Linked DNA regions of Homo sapiens: region 1 is linked to region 2. The links are contacts of gene promoters, found by promoter capture Hi-C in human tissues and cell types (Jung and others, 2019). All regions are on one chromosome and are shown on one strand. Each heading gives the region's core, a stretch centred on a gene start or on the middle of the fragment in contact. The rest is flanking DNA. Distances are from core to core; before and after follow the strand shown.

Region 1 (4,947 bases), core at 304-2,803, 67 kb before region 2:
TGAACAGATCTTGAGCACCTGCTGCGTGTCTGGCCCTGCACTGAGTGCCTTCCATCAGCTCCACACGGCTGAATGCACAGCATCCAGCCAGGGGCTGGGAATTGCTGGAAGGAGGGGCAGGTGAGAGGGATCTGTTCCTTCCCATCCTGAAGTGGCCTGGGAGCGATGAGGGGAACAGCGGAGGCACCAAGGCCTGCCAGAAGGCTGGCCCCTCATCTGTGCATCTGTGTCTTGGCCACTTGCTGGCCTCTGAGCTGCCCCTTGTTTTTCAGATGAGGAGCGGAGGCCCTGGGAAGGCAGGACCTCTGCAGCTCTGTTCAGGCCTATCAACCTGTGCACCCCTGCCTCCCGCCCCCAGCCAGGTACGACAGCCAGAAGTCTGAAGGGCCATGAGACCAAGGCAGGACTTAGTCCAGGTACTGAAGCCTCAAGCACTGCTGGATGGGGTGTGAGAGGCCCTCTCTCGGGGCTCACAGCTTTGGGGCCTCCCATGATGCCAAGGCTTCGTGCCGACGGCTCAGCAAGAACACAACTCCTACCATGCCTCAGATGTCCCAAAGCCGGGACACACCCACCACCTACTTTATCTGAGTCCCCAGCAGCCCTGGGTGGGAGGCAGCTTGACGTGTCACCCCCTTAAACCGACAGAGTACCCAGGTGTCCCCAGCTCAGAAGTGGCAGATCAGGCAGGAGCACCTGAGCTTTCGGCCTTTTTGTAAGGCAAGGTATCCCTCTGCCTTTCCAAAGAGGACAGACTCTTGGCTCCCTCTGCCCCCATCAAAACAATCCAGCCACAGAGCTGGTGCAGTGCCGATCCTGTCGATAACACCCAGTGACACCTGATTCGGCGCCTTCTGTCTGAGTGTGAGCAGCCACCATCCTCATGGCCCTCCCCAAGATTGCCCTGTACCCAGCACATGCACCTCACAGGCCCCAGGGCGATTGAGGGGATCCTCTGGGTGAGCCAGCCTCTGGGTCTCAGTTTCCTCATCTATAAAATGGGCACAGGGGGACGGAGGGATATGAGATTCCCTGATTCTTAAAGGCCTGCAGTCAACTCTCAGAGCATCCTGGCCCCTCGCCGTTTACTAACAATTAAACCGTGTCTTTCCTAAAGGGCAAGACAGAGGGATCAGGCTGGCAAGGGGGACACTTGCCTCTGTAGGGGACGCTGGCCTCCTCTGCCTGTCAGTCTTTTCACTCACAGCGAAAACCAGAAATCCACTGACTCCCGGGGGGAACCCGAAGAGAGATGCTTGGAGCTGGTAAGGGTTATGGATGGGGAAACTGAGGCCCTGACTTGTCCCCAGCTGGGCACGGACTGGGTGCCCCCCACTGCCTCCAAGCAGGGCCGCATCCAATGGCGACTCGACAGCCCTACCTGGCACCGGTGCCCGGCTCGTGGGGCGGGTGGAGGGTCGGGCAGTCGCAGGGCGCGGGCTCCCTCGGGTGGACGGCGCCCGGCCGGGCCGGGCCGGGCCGGGGAGGCAGGCGCGGGGCGCGGGGCGCGGTGCACAGCGGGGAGCGCGCAGGGAGGCGAGGAGGCGCGGACTGGGCTCCGCCCGCAGGAGAACAAACAGGTTTTCTCCGGCCGCCCGGAGCCTCGCCCCTCGCCCCTCCCCTCGGCCGGCCCCTTCCTCTGCCCCTCCTGGGGTAGGTAGAGGCGCCTGGCACATTCCGCACATTCTCCCGCCAGCGTCCTCCGCCCGCCCGCCCCTTCTCGGCCCCGCCCCGCGGGGCTGCTGGAGAAATCAAGTCTGGGGCTCCCCTTGTCGAGCACGGGGCGAGCTCCAGAAGGCTCTGCCGTGATGGAAAACTTCCAGGCAAATTCCTCCGGGCCCGTGGCCCCCAGGCCGGGAAGCCTCCGCCACGTGAAGGGCCCCCGCTCCTAGTTGCGCGATCTGGCCCCGGCACAGGGCCAACGACTTCCACAGATGCTGTCGGGTTAATTCAGTCGAGAACTACCGTTCCTAGATCCATTTTACAGATGGAGATCCCAGACAGGGGCGGGGAGGGGGGCGGGGGGCTGGCGGCTGAGATCATCCAGGAAGTCCTGCAGGCAGGAAAGGAGGAGAAGAGTGAGGGAGCCGCTCATCGTGGAAGGCCATCCTGGGACGGACCCGGGGCTCACAAGGCACAGCAAACGGGGCTATCTCCCAGGCTGGGCGACGAGATACAGCCAGACTCCCAGAGCCAATGCGGTTTGATGTACCTGTGTCACGCGTTGGTGCTCACCGAGTGCTTTATTGTGTGCAAGGCCCTGGGCTGGGGCTAAGGATGGAGAGAGCATGGAGGAAAGACCCCTCACCCCACGGCCTCCCAAACAGGGAGACAATTAAGCCAGCCCAAGAAATGGCATGGACTTGGCCAGGAGTTGGCCTACCAGGGTGGTAGGCTCAAAAGAATGGACCAGCTGCTTCTCCTTCATCAAGGCCTGCCAATGTGGTGTTTCCATGGCCCTCCAGTCCACCCACTTCTCCCTGTGCCTGCTGCCACCACCCTAGTCCAGACCTGGCCCCGAAGACCAGCCTCCTTGCTGGTGTCCCCCTGCCTCTGGTCTTGCCTTCCTTTCCCTCAGTCTCTACACGGAGGTCAGGTTAAAAGTTCACGTGTGTCAATATGATCAGGTGCTCTCCTGCTTGCAACTCCTCCATGGCTTCCCATTGCTCTCAGGGTAAAAGCCAGACTCCTTGAGACGACCTATCCCTGCAGGTCCAGCCACTCTTCCCTTTGTTCAATACATTACAGCCACACTGGCCTTTTTCCATTGCCTTCTGAATACATCACATGGCGCTCACCTTGGGGTGTTTGCTCCTGCTCCTCGGACTCCCTAAAATGCTCTTCATCCCCGTCGGGCTAGTGAGCTCTTAGTCATTCTTCAAGCCTCCACCCAGTGTCCGGAAAGCCTCCCCTGCCTGCCACCCAGTCGAGCTGATCACTTCCTTCTGTGCACCCCTTAGTTCCCTCAGATGACATCAATCCAGCATAGTGGCTGTCACCCTCTATTGTTCTAGATCCTGAGCTCTGGGAGGGCAGGGCCCCTTCTGATTCATCACTGGGTCACGGAGACCAGCACAGGGCATCCGAAGAATTTGCAGAAGGAAGTGATGGATGGGTGAGTGAGGCTGTGGAAGCTGTCCTCATCCTTTTCTTCTTGGGGTTCATGAGATAGGGAGAAGGCGACCCTGTGTGTGCTTAGGGGGTTGTATATAAAGTCACTTCTGTTCATGTCCGTCTCTTGCCAACAAGCATTTTTCTGCTTCCAATATTGTATGCCCCTGTCTGGTGGCCAGCAACTAACACCTCCCCTCCTCCACTGTGGCTACTGGTGGCCATGGATTTGGCTTGGCATCTTACCTCCTAAACATGTTTACTGTATGACTTAGGCTGTGTCATACTCTTTGTCTGGGTCCCAGTCCTCTTCAAGAGCCCCTAGTTTGAAAGGGTAGAAGGTAGAAGACATCATGATGGGTGAGATGTAGGGCAAGGAAGAGGGAAAAGGCAAACTTGTTCAAGAGCCCTGAGTCAGGGGTGGGGGGCCCAGCTGGAGAGCATGAGCAAATGTGGTGTCCAACGGCACGGCCAGCAAGTGAGGACTGCCCCAGGCTGGGCCGCCCCAGGGCCTCAAGCTCTTCCCATGTCCCAGGTGACTCAGTCTCTGCCCAGGCCCGATCTGTCACGACTGCTCCAGCCAAAGAGATCAGCCTTCCCTGAACCCCTCCCTCCCTGCCAGGCTGCCAGGCCCTGCAGCTGATCTTGCCTGCAAACGGGTTTGACTTGAATGGTAACTGCCCTGCCCTGCCCTGCCCACCTGTCCATTGCCCCAACAGTCTTCCACTTCCACGCCTGCCAGGGCACCTCTAGTCACCTCAGCCAGGCTTCAGGCACCTGCTGGCTTCTTCAGCCTCTTCAAGCACCAGACATGCCCAAATGACATGTACCCAGATAGACCAAGTGCTCAAATACCACCAGGACGCTGCACAAGATGCTCCCTTTGTTTGGAATGACATTTCCTCCCCAGGGACACCAGGTGGCCTCCACTTTCTCTCAGCAGTAACATTATCTCCTTCATGAACCTTCCCTTAGACCTCCCTCAAGTTCTAGGCCAAGGCTGTGGTGGCTGCTGCCTGCCTCCAGGCTGGGCTCTGTCCCTACCTGGCCTGAGCTTGGCCCTATCCTTTCCTATTCACATCTCTTGCACTTTTCCACCCATCCGCAGCTCCAAGACAGGCCAGCTCCCACCCCCTGGCTCTGGCAGAGTTCTCCTGAAGTCCCTCCAGCTTAGGCAGCAGTGCCACCTCCAGGGGACTGGACAGTCTCTTCCCACCAACAAGCAGGCCCTCAGCAAGGCTCTAAGTGAGAGGTAGGGGCTTCAGGGTGGGGCCAGGCTGGGCTGTCTGGGCAGGCAAGAGGCTGAAAGGTAGAGGCAGGGAGTAGCAGGTGGTGAGCCCTGTGCTGGAGAAGCCATAGCTCACAAGCAGGCCGTGGAGGCAGCGTCTCTGGGAGGCTGCATCTAAGCAATGAGATGGGTAGCACGGCAGGTGGCTGCTGGGAAAGAACTGGCCAGCAGCACTCCTCAGCTCCAGGGGAGGCCCCATTCTGATCTCCAGGGCTGGGAAGAGAACTCAAGCAAGGTGATCTAGCCCCAGAGTTCCCAGGCTAGGAGGTGGGCACAGTGGCTCACGCCTGTAATCCCAGCATTTTGGGAGGCCAAGGAGAGAAGACCGCTTGAGCTCAGGAGTTCAAGACCAGCCTGAGCGATATGGTGAGACCCCGTCTCTACAAAAAATACAGAAAACAAAAAGAGTTACCAGGCTAGAGGGGGAGAAAGAGGGGTTGGGCCCTGAAAGCTGTCAGGCCGCAAAGCTCCCCCAGGCAGTGTCCTCAGCTAGAGGGGACTGAAGACAGGCAGGCAACCTCAACACTTCAGTTGTACAAATGGGAAAA
Region 2 (4,461 bases), core at 1,321-3,820:
CAAGAACTACATTTGACTCTTGAACAATGTGGGGGTTAGGGGCACGGAGCCCCGAAGTCAAAAATCCACATATAACTTTTGACTCACCTAAAACTTCACTAATATAGCTTACTGTTGGCTGGAAGCCTTACCAATAATGTAAACAGTTGATGAACAAATATTTTGTACATTACATGTATTACATACTGTGTCCCAGCAATAAATTAAGCTAGAGAAAAGAAAATGTTACTATGAAATCATAAGGAAGAGAAAATATATTTACTATTCACTGAGTGAAAGTGGATCATCATGGTCTCCATCCTCACGGTCTTCCTGATGAGTATGCTGAGAAGGAAGATGAGGAGGAGCTGATCCTGCTGCTCAGCGGTGGGAGAGATGAGAAAAAAATCTGCCTGTAAATGGACTCACAAGGTTCAAACCCATGTTGTTCAGGGGTCAACTGTAATACTGCCTGAAGACCTGCTCAACATCAGGCCACTTTACATATAAGTAGTTCATCCCATTGAGATGCAAAAGTATCCCATCAGGTAGACAGTACTGGTCTCACTCAACAAATGAGAAACAGGCTCAGAGAGGTTAAGCGACTTGCCCAAGGTCACACAGCCTGCACACAGCCTGCGCAGAACTTGTGTTTTTCCCTTGTACTCTGTCAGGCTTCCGATCTGCAGGTTGACGGACTGGGAAGCAAGGTATGGAGGGACATTAAGCTAGAAGGGTTACCAGGGGCAAAACTGGGCAGAGGGATCACAGGCCAGGCTAAGGAGCCCTTTACGGTTCAGGCTCTGAAGGTTTAAGAGCAGGGAGATGCCCTGACCAGGGCCGTTCACTACGAAGATTAACCTGGTAGAGCAGGGAGGACTAGCTAGGTGAGAGCTGGGAAACAGGGGAGCTACTCATCAGTTGTCTAATATGTGCCCCTCTCTGTTCTAGGTCCTGGAGTACCAGTAGTGAATACAACAAAGATGCCTGCCCTCAGACAGCCTGCCTTCTAGTGGAGGGACAACAAAGAGCAAAACAAACAAGCAAAATATACAGTAGGTCAGAAGGGGATAAGAACTGTTGGAAAAAAAAGTAGAGCAAGGTGAGTGGCTTGTTTGTACTGGGGGCTGCAATACTTAAATAGGGTGCCTAAGAGGAGGCAGGCGGAGAGGACAACTGAGACAAAGATGAGAGGCAGGAGTGTGGCTGGCACATGAGGTTCAACCACAAAGCCAGTGTTCTGGGGCTGGAGTGAGCCAGACGAGAGAAGAGTTGTGGAGCGATGGAAGGGGACACGTCGTGCCAAGCTTTGGAGATCACAGTGAGAACTCTGGCTCGTACTACTTGGGGGGATGATGATGACCCAAAAGTCAGGAATCTGTTCACTGCTGAAGAGAGAAGAGGGCAAAGGGCAGCAGCTCCATTTAAAAGGTTCTAATAAGCCTCGGGCCTTTCTCTGTCTGAGAAACTTACTCTCTGCCCTCTGTCTCCCTAGATTACTGCCCCTATGCCTGGAGGAAAAACAGGTGAAGGCTAAAAGCCACGGGGATAGCTAAAGAGGGCAAACTGGACCTCCAGCTCCACTTCTGCAGGTCTATGTCAGTCCACAGCCCTTGCACACGCTCCCTTTTAATTCTCCAAGCATACCTCTCACTTCCAAAACTCCTGTGACTCTGCTGATGAGGGCGTCTCGGCCTGGAATGCTCCTCCTTATCTGCATTGTGTGGGTGTCAAAAAGAGTATATTTTGATGACCTCTCCCCGCCCCTCATGCTCGCTCACATCCCCCTCACTCCTTTCAAAGTCCGTTCCCAAAGGCCCCAGTTCACCGTCCTGGGCTGCTTTTAGCCAGGTAAGATCTAAAGTGATCCTCTCTTGGAACCTGGTCTGGGGCCTATACATCTGGGTCAGTCTAGGGGTGCTCTCGAAGGGCCACCCTCAAAGAGCGAGCCTCGGCTGGATTCAGTTCCTAGGTCCCAGCCGTCCGACCTCTGCGACAACACTCAGCACACCCCTTCCCCTCTCCGGGTCTCAGTTGCCCCGTGAGTACAGTCCCTGCTCCAACACGCAAGGTAATCGTTTCTGGCTGCTCTGATGCACTCGGTCCCTAAACTCAGCCTTAGGTCAACCCAGAAAGCACCCGACCCGGGCGACCCCGTAGCTCCCCACCCTCCCGCACTGCCCAGTCGCTGACACAGGGTGACCTCCAATGGCAAGGCCACGACTCTTACCCGTCCGTAGGCGCCCCCCTGTCTGGCCTCAGCTCGCAAGCAGGCTGCACCCACTGAACTCCAGGCCCGGACCGCCACCCTTTACTCCCCTCCCGCGTGAGCCGAGAATCAGCCGAGCTTCCTCCACCAAGAGGATTGGCCCAGCTCGGCGACGACTCAGCCAATTGGCGCTCACGGCGTGATCTTGCCCAATAAAGACGGGGCTCTGTCGCCAGCGTGCCCCTCCCCGCGCTGGGCCGGGGCTTTGCCAGGTTAGTCCCACCCTCTTCGGCCCTGCACCAATAGGGAGAGGCGGCGACGAGCGGACGGCCAATGGGGAGCGGGGCTGCGCGCGCGGGGCGGTGGGAACGGCGCCGAGTCAGTGTACACGTCGGTTGCCTAACAACCGGCAGCGGACTCCTTTGGCTATGGTGAGTGCTGCCGCTCTGTCGCGCCCCACGCCCAGCGGCTGAGCCCTTCCCAGGCCCCAGCTCGGCCACGCCGCCTCTCCTGCGCCTTTCTCGGCTTTAGCGCACCAGTCTTTCCTTTGAGCTCTTTCCCGGGAGAGTAGGGTACAGACGCTAACCAACCTACTGGGCCTGCGCTTCGCTGCTGCCTCCTCTTCACCCACAACAGGCCCACACCCGCCCCTCGGGCTCCCCTTGCATTCCCTGATCCCCTCGGTGAACCTCCCTGGGCAAAAAAGACTCGAATCCCTCACAGGCCCCTGACTCTCTCAGACCTTGGCCCCCTGGCCTCCTCATTCTGCCAAAATTTCCACACACAGCTGGGAAAAGGTGTATCGTGTTCTGTTACAATGTTTTTTACAATTTAAATACAGGGGCATTCAGGGGATGCTTTAGCTTCTTGGAGAAGGCACGAAGGTGCCAGATGGATTGAGTTTTATTACTCGGTACTGACACAATATACATCTTAACAACTTACTAATATTTGGCCAAATCTAGAAGTAATTGGGAAGTCGGAGTACTTACTGGGAAGGGGAGTACTGGGAGTGGGCATCGTAAGACTGTTTTCAGAACCAGGATCCCCACGTTCGGGAAGAGCTGATTATCTCTAGTTATTCACAGTCATCTTCTTGACTGGCTCTCTTTTGGGATGATTTTCAGTAAGAGGTGTCCTTACTGAACAAGTGATCTCCCTGCTTCTAGAAACAACAGTAAAGAAAAGGGAGGGGTAGAAGTTCATGGAAAGATTCATTGTTCTTGCCAGTAAACCCTGTTATCTTTCTTTTTAAGCAAAGCTTTGGAATTGGTTATATAAATGACTTTAAAAATACATATGGGTGTCTGTAACTATGTTATGTAAATATGGACTGTATGATATATTATTGTGCTTGTGTATTGCATAACATATAAAGGCCTCCAACTTTAAGAAGGCAAACATGGCATCAAGTTCTCAGCGAAAAAGAATGAGCCCTAAGCCTGAGCTTACTGAAGAGCAAAAGCAGGAGATCCGGGAAGCTTTTGATCTTTTCGATGCGGATGGAACTGGCACCATAGATGTTAAAGAACTGAAGGCAAGCTCTGTGCATTCCTGCCGTACTGCCCTTCCTTTCCTCTGCCTCTTCCTTGTCATCTCCCTATCACCTCTCTACCCCTTTTGCCCTCTTCTCCCTGCAGTAAGTAACAGGGGAGGTTGTACTGTGCTGTTTTCCTGTCTTTACTTACTTTGAGTATTATTCAATAAAATTGATTGCAAATATCAATTAGATCAATGTCATAGTGTTCCCCAATCATATTAACATGACCACATCAGATGCTGGCTTAATGCTCTCAACACTGTTATTTTTGCTCCTGCTACTTTAGATGTGCTTATTGAGACGATCCTGTTTTCTTTATAGGTGGCAATGAGGGCCCTGGGCTTTGAACCCAAGAAAGAAGAAATTAAGAAAATGATAAGTGAAATTGATAAGGAAGGGACAGGAAAAATGAACTTTGGTGACTTTTTAACTGTGATGACCCAGAAAATGGTAAGTAGCTAAGACAATTATCATGGTATGGAGCCCCAGTCATCTGCAGAGGTCCATGGCGTCTTCCTGTTAAAACAGTCATGTGACCACAGAGCAGTCCAGGTAGCAACTGCATCAGGAGGCCTGCCCTCCCATCATGTTACTTTGGGCTCCCAAAACAAGCCCTTGTGCTTCTTTCTCAAGACTTCCAAGCAGATACCTCTTCCCACAGAATTCCAAATCAGTTAGGAAATAGATATGGGATAGGGAGAGATATAGCGATAGGTAGCAAACGTCACCTTGG

What was found. The method cuts DNA at HindIII sites, captures the fragments that hold promoters and counts their contacts. A contact is called where the count stands out against the background at its distance.
Region 1: a contact is called between the fragment with the promoter of ZNF185 here and the fragment with the promoter of CETN2 in region 2, in 1 of the 25 tissues and cell types used here (adrenal gland).

Annotation. Positions count from the first base shown.
Region 1 is chrX:152,894,673-152,899,619 of GRCh38, reverse strand. It overlaps ZNF185 (zinc finger protein 185 with LIM domain), which reads right to left and starts at 1,553. Exons shown (of 25, transcript NM_001395254.1): 1 at 1,382-1,553. RefSeq lists an enhancer at 1,801-2,301. The HindIII fragment of the contact is 26,007 bases long and covers 1-4,947 here.
Region 2 is chrX:152,828,866-152,833,326 of GRCh38, reverse strand. CETN2 (centrin 2) reads left to right here and starts at 2,570. Exons shown (of 5, transcript NM_004344.3): 1 at 2,570-2,619; 2 at 3,567-3,725; 3 at 4,050-4,178. The coding sequence starts at 2,617. NSDHL (NAD(P) dependent 3-beta-hydroxysteroid dehydrogenase NSDHL) reads right to left here and starts at 2,264. Exons shown (of 8, transcript NM_015922.3): 1 at 2,210-2,264. RefSeq lists a silencer at 2,331-2,670. The HindIII fragment of the contact is 5,705 bases long and covers 1-4,178 here.